Regions from separate parts of the Homo sapiens genome. Here region 1 is linked to region 2. Evidence: promoter capture Hi-C in 16 types of primary human blood cells and fetal thymus (Javierre and others, 2016). All regions are on one chromosome and are shown on one strand. The core of a region is centred on a gene start or on the middle of the fragment in contact, and the rest is flanking DNA. Distances in the headings are between cores, read along the strand shown.

The links. The method cuts DNA at HindIII sites, captures the fragments that hold promoters and counts their contacts. A CHiCAGO score of 5 or more calls a contact.
Region 1: a contact is called between a fragment that was not itself captured here and the fragment with the promoter of GNAI3 in region 2, in 1 of 17 cell types (M2 macrophages). The highest score is 5.2, in M2 macrophages.

Annotation. Positions count from the first base shown.
Region 1 is chr1:109,888,861-109,891,913 of GRCh38, forward strand. All of the region lies in intron 4 of LINC01768 (long intergenic non-protein coding RNA 1768), which reads left to right. Among named protein-coding and RNA genes, the nearest start is that of CSF1, 20 kb to the right of the region's middle. RefSeq lists a cis regulatory region at 277-701 and an enhancer at 1,387-1,681. The HindIII fragment of the contact is 693 bases long and covers 1,056-1,748 here.
Region 2 is chr1:109,547,114-109,550,046 of GRCh38, forward strand. It overlaps GNAI3 (G protein subunit alpha i3), which reads left to right and starts at 1,502. Exons shown (of 9, transcript NM_006496.4): 1 at 1,502-1,725. The coding sequence starts at 1,608. It overlaps GPR61 (G protein-coupled receptor 61), which reads left to right. Exons shown (of 2, transcript NM_001393907.1): 2 at 1-147. RefSeq lists enhancers at 1,029-1,088, 1,619-1,788. The HindIII fragment of the contact is 6,158 bases long and covers 1-2,933 here.

The DNA of each region.
Region 1 (3,053 bases), core at 152-2,651, 340 kb after region 2:
AATAAACAGAGGAGACAGGTCTAGGGCAGTCACAGTAAGTCCAATATTTAGGGTTTGGGTAGAGGAGGACAAACAGGAAAGTGTAATGGAAGCCAAGGGTAGGAGAAAGAAGAAGTGACCCTCAGTGGAAAAATCAAACATGCGAGGGCTAAAACTGTTCACTGAATGTATGGAGAAGGTCATTAGTAGTTTGGGTGCAGTTTATTTATATTTTGTGAGGGAGGAAAAATCTATCACAGTGAGTTGAGGCGTAAATGGAAAGTGTTTGAGATGTTTTCCTAGGAAGAAGAGGGTAATCATTGGAGGAAGAGATAGAATCAAGGGAGGGCCCGATTTCACATTAGAGACTTGAATGTGTTTAAATGATGGGGAGCTGAGAGTAAAGAGGGAGAAGCTGAAGATAAAGGAAAAGAGGGGATAGGCAAGGTCCCTGAGATGGCAGCAAGGGTTGGGATCCAGAAGCTAAGAGGGCAAATTAGATAGAAGAGTGTATGCCTTCCATTAAACCAGGAGGCAAAGTGGAGAGGACCTGTGCAGCCGGTAGATAAGAGAAGCTGCAGGATGGCTGAAGACTCACTGCCTCAAGGCTTCTGTCTTTTTTTTTTTTTTGAGATGGAGTCTCCCTCTGTCACCCAGGCTGGAGTGCAGTGGCGCGATCTTGGCTGACTACAACCTCCACCTCCTGGGTTCAAGTGATTCTCCTGCCTCAGCCTCCCCAAGTAGCTGGGACTACAGCCGTCTGCCGCCACCCCAAGATAATTTTTTTTTTGTATTTTTAGTAGAGACAAGGTTTCACCATATTGGTCAGGCTGGTCTTGAACTCTTGACCTCAGGTGATCCACCTGCCTCAGCCTCCCAAAGTGCTGGGATTACAGGCATGAGCCACCACACCTGGCTGGCTTCTGTCTTATCTTTGAAAGGAGTAGGAGATAACATCTGCTGAGAATTCAGATGGAAGTAAGTATGTGGAAAGTTTGAGGACAGGGATACGGTCTACCAGGGTGGTTTTTCCAGGACTAGAATATGTATGGCAGGCAGCACTGAGGACCCAGCCAAGCTTGGTGGTCACAGTGTTGGAGGACCTGGCCAGCTTGCTACTGTGGCCTTCTCCTGCAGAATCACCTGTCATGCCAGTGCAGTTCAGAGGAAAAGGACAGCTGCTTCATCCACCGGTGGAATTTTGGCAGGCGGTGCAACAAGGGGGAATTTATGTTATAGGAGAGAATGAATAAAATTCTGAGCTGTGCATCTCAGGTGTGAGAAAAGAGAATGCAGGAAAAAGGGGGCTGCTGGATTGAAAGAAAACAGAGGGATCCATGGACGGGGTACCTGATGGGGTCAGAGGTCAAGAGTAGACAAAGTGATTGAGTGGAGAAGCTGAGAGTATAGAGAAGGCCATCAAGATTAGTGATTTCAGAGGTGAGGGAGTTCTGGGTGGTGACTAAGTCTAGGGAGTGGTGATGGGAGTGGGTGGCCAAGTCACAGTGGGACAGAAGGTTGTCAGAGATGGGGAAAGCCAGCAGCTCAGAGGCTAGGGTGTGGGCTGCCACTCTCACGGACATAAAGTCATCCCGATGATGACAGGGGCTCCCTGTACACACCACACCTTACCTCTCCTGGCAACACCCCACTGTGTCTCAACCATGTGGGTTGCTATGGTGGTGGGTGTATGTGGGATGGTGGTAGTTAAAACTGGGAGGGCTCTGTGAGATGTTTCCATAATAGGAAGAGATTTTGTCACTTGTGTAAGCTTTGAACAAAATGGGTTCCTCAAAGTCCTCACATAGCTTGTTATCAAGATGAATCAGGATTGAGAAAATCTAAGATTCGTCCTCTACTCCCATGCTGATGGCAGCCCAGAATGGAACGCCTCCTCCCCTTCCCCCACTCCTGGAGCCTGCTCCTCTCTCATGTCCTCCCAGCCACTCTGTGTAGATAATTCAGTCTCACTCTCATGTCACCAACTCTGCCTCTTTCTATTTATTCCCACTGTACCTGTTCTGATTCATGTTATTGCCACCAGTCTCCTAACATTACATTGCTTCTTAACTGATTTATCTGCTCCACCCTTTCCCTCCAACTTTCCCCAGCTCCCCCTTCCAGGGGAGAGAGGACAAAGAGAGGACACTCCTAGAAATAAACTCTCCAAAATACACCCTTCCCACAGCCGTCAGCAGAGCCTCTGCAAAATGCGGGTCAGTTTAGATGACTCCTGTCATGGAAACTTCTCAGAGGGTCTCTGTGTCTACAGAACAAAGACGACACTCCTTGCTTAGCACGATACCAAGACTCCTCCTCGCCTGACCACCTACATCTCCTCCCTCCATGTCCTATGCGCCAGTCCCTGTGGGCTTTTGTATGTTAGCTGTAACAAAGCATGTACTTTCCTGACTCATGCTCTCCTCCTGTTTCTCTGGCTGGCAAGAGCCTGTGCATCCCATAGGGCTTAGCCGCAATCACACCTTCTCTTTGGTGCCTTTTTTATCCTCATAGTTCAAAATTAATCAGCCCTTTCTCTACAACAAAGCCAGCATGTTGTCAAATCTCTATTTAGCATATATTGTCAGCCTTGTATTGCAGTCAACTGTTTAGAAATCGTTCATGTAACACTTATCTATAAATATGTTTAGTTGTGTGAGACGCTGAGGACACAAAGACAGAAGGCCAGTCCCTGCCTTCAGAGTGTTCATGTTTTGGTGATGGGGGAATGGGAGTTTCTGCTAGGCTGCCAGGCAATGGCACAGCTTAGTGGTATATGCTGTGATGCTTGAAGGACGTCTACCCAGACGAGGGTCAGGGAAGACTTCCTGTGGGAAGATGACATCTCAGCTGAGGCTGGAGGGAGGAGCTGCCTGGCTTTTCAGGTAATTCCACCATGTAGTAGAATTACCAGTTTATATGTCTCTCTCCCCAGCTACAATCTAAATTTCTGAAGTTCAGAGAAATGTTTTACTTATCGCTGAGTCCCCACACCTCATTCCAGAGGCTGGCACATCTTAAACCACAGTGATGATTGTTAGGATGGGCCTCTAGACTCCTGGAAGGCAGGAGCT
Region 2 (2,933 bases), core at 252-2,751:
ATTTCTCTGAGCCTACTTCCTCACCTGTAAAAATGGGGATCATTATTACCTACCTCACAGGGTTGTTGTGAGGATTAAGAGATGGGATGTGGGAGCACCTAGCCGTATCTGGCAAATAGGTACTCAATAAATACTGGTTTTACTTCCCTTTCCTCTTGCCCTTTTTCCCCAAAAGTATTGATAATGGAAAAGCAGTCCCTTTCATTCTTAACAGTCATTTGGGAATGACTGGGGGACTTTTCAAACCTTGAAGAATTGGCATTGCTAAGAGTTAAGGTGGACGAGGCTTTTTAAGGTGGCTCTAATCCTCTAATTAAATCCTTCTAATTAATGAATCATCACTATATAAACCTCTCTGTTGGGACCTTACTTTCTCAAGTTCAGATTCTATTAGAGAAATAAATTTACAATCACAGGGAAAGGTTTTAGGGACTGAGTTCCCTTCGCTAGAACGTATAGTAATTGTGGGCTTATTTGCCTGAAAAGTTGATTTAGGACTACCTTCACGCAGTATCCAGGGTTATTAGTGAAAGATGCTATCTGCCTGGGACTTTCACAGTGGACTTAAGTTTCAGGTGATACTAGGGCTGAGAGGCAAATTTTACTAGAACCTCTCCTTTTGCATGTTATCGCAACAGGAAATTTTAGTAGGAGATTCACAGGATGCACTGGTTTGTTTCGGGGTGTGGAATTGAAGTTGACTTATCTTGGTTTTAGTTCTAAGACCCTAAGGTAGGAAGATCTGAATTATACTGGAGAGAAGGGCAGCATGGAAATTTTATGGAGGAACTACAGGCTTACCTTTCAGGTTATCGAGTATCTGCTAGCGATTTCAAGTGGCCTTTTGCCAATATAGGAGTTAAGCAAATCTCAAGCCCACAGAAATACGTGAATAGCAAAAGGACCAGGGGACATTTTGAGAGGAGTCAGTGGGCCAGAGACGGCAAAAAGTTATTGCTGAGGTCCTAAGCACAGTCGGTGTTACGATCTCAGATGTGAGACGTGAACGGCGCCCAGGCCGGATAGCTTGTTCCCATTCCATTGATCTGAGATAACCCCAACGGAGGCAGTGTCCCATACTTGGGTAGGGGTCCCGAGTCTCCACAGCCAGAGATCAAAGGAGTTTTCTGGCAGGCGAGAAATTACCAGCAGATATTCCCGCGCGGGATGTAGGCTTTAATTTAGAAATCTCCGCCCCAAAACTGGCATCTTGAACGCGGGAGGGCATTATGAGTTAGAGGCCCCGGTTTTTCTCCATTTATCCAAATCAGGTAGCCGAAAGGTAAATGAGGCTTCAAGTTGGGCGGCGGGCAGCGAACTTGACAGAACCTCGAAACTCTGCAGATCCGCCGCCCAACCCAGCCGCCAGCTCCCCGTGACTTCCGCTTTCGGTCTCAACTCCTCTCCCTGAGGAGAGTGGTTTAAACGGTGAAGGCTGCGGGGCGTCGCCGGAAGTGTCGTAAACGTCGGATATCCGGTTCTTCTGGGCGCTAAGGGAGCTGACGGAGAGGGCCACCGCCCAGCAATAGACGGTGCCTCAGCCTGCCGAGCCGCAGTTTCCGTGGTGTGAGTGAGTCCGGGCCCGTGTCCCCTCTCCCGCCGCCGCCATGGGCTGCACGTTGAGCGCCGAAGACAAGGCGGCAGTGGAGCGAAGCAAGATGATCGACCGCAACTTACGGGAGGACGGGGAAAAAGCGGCCAAAGAAGTGAAGCTGCTGCTACTCGGTGAGGGGCTGGAGGCGGGGACTGAGTGGTGGTCGGGAGAGCCTAGGCGCTTGGAAGGCCTGAACGGGGTCTGGTCGGGCCGACGGAAAGGACCCTAAAGGGATCTGGAGGGCGTGCCGGGCGTGGGGCGGGGTGTTGGGGTTCCTAGCTGAGGCCCCAGAGGGCGTGATGAGGGGGGTGGGGTTTTGGGGTTGCGGGAATTAGGCTGTAGAGGGTGTGACTCCGGGCTAGAATTGCGTTTAGCAGAGAGACTTGGGAGTATGGGCCGGTAGATGTTGAGGGAGTAGGAATATGGGAAAAGCTCATAAAGGAAGAGTTGATACTAGGAAGGTTTTACGTTGGGTTGGAGCGTGTTGGTAACGAGAACGGCATAGAGTATATGTTGGGCTTGTATAATGGTTTGTGAGTTTGGAGCGTCGTGGTTCTTTGGCAGGATAAAGCTAGCAGGCTTGAATGGATGGTACAGAGACTGGAACAGAATGGTCACATAAGGACGTTGACATTTGTTAGTAAGAGAGCCATTTGAACTGTTGGAAGAACCCTGGATTATCCAGGAACATGAAGATAGGTAGGTGAGATAAATGACAAGTTATCAGGTATAAAGGAAAAGAGCTTGGGTGCAGAGGCCATCTCTACTTTTCCACCGTTTCCTATCATTTTTATTTTCAAAGTTTTATAACGTCTTCTTCTGTTTTTACAAAAGGATGGGAAATGGTGTGAGCTGAAGAAATTTAAAGAATGATTTCTTTGAGGTTTGTAGCAGAAGATCTAGTGAACAAGAGATTACACATTGGAGGATGCTGAATAGTTGCTATAGATGATGTGTAGTTGGAATAGTTACCTTAGGATAAGTTACAGAGTTGGACATATTCACTGTAAAGACTATGGTAGACTTCTGGTGGCTGTTTTATCCTTTTTGGCCTCTTCAAAGCAAAACCATTGACTTCAGGAATTACTGTTTATGTTATTTGATAGTCGTTTTAATTGGCTTTTTTTAAACACAGTCGGATGTATTTTACTCAACATGAGTTTCAAAATTTTTGAGAGGCTCAGTAAATCATACAAAGAATACTGGCATTAGCTTACTAATAAATCAAGCCACATTTCTTCATTATTAGTGAAGATTTTCTAGGGTAGTATTTCCATTATTTTCCAATATTTTCTAGGGTAGTATTTCCATTAGAGAAGAATAAGTAGGAGTAGGGGTT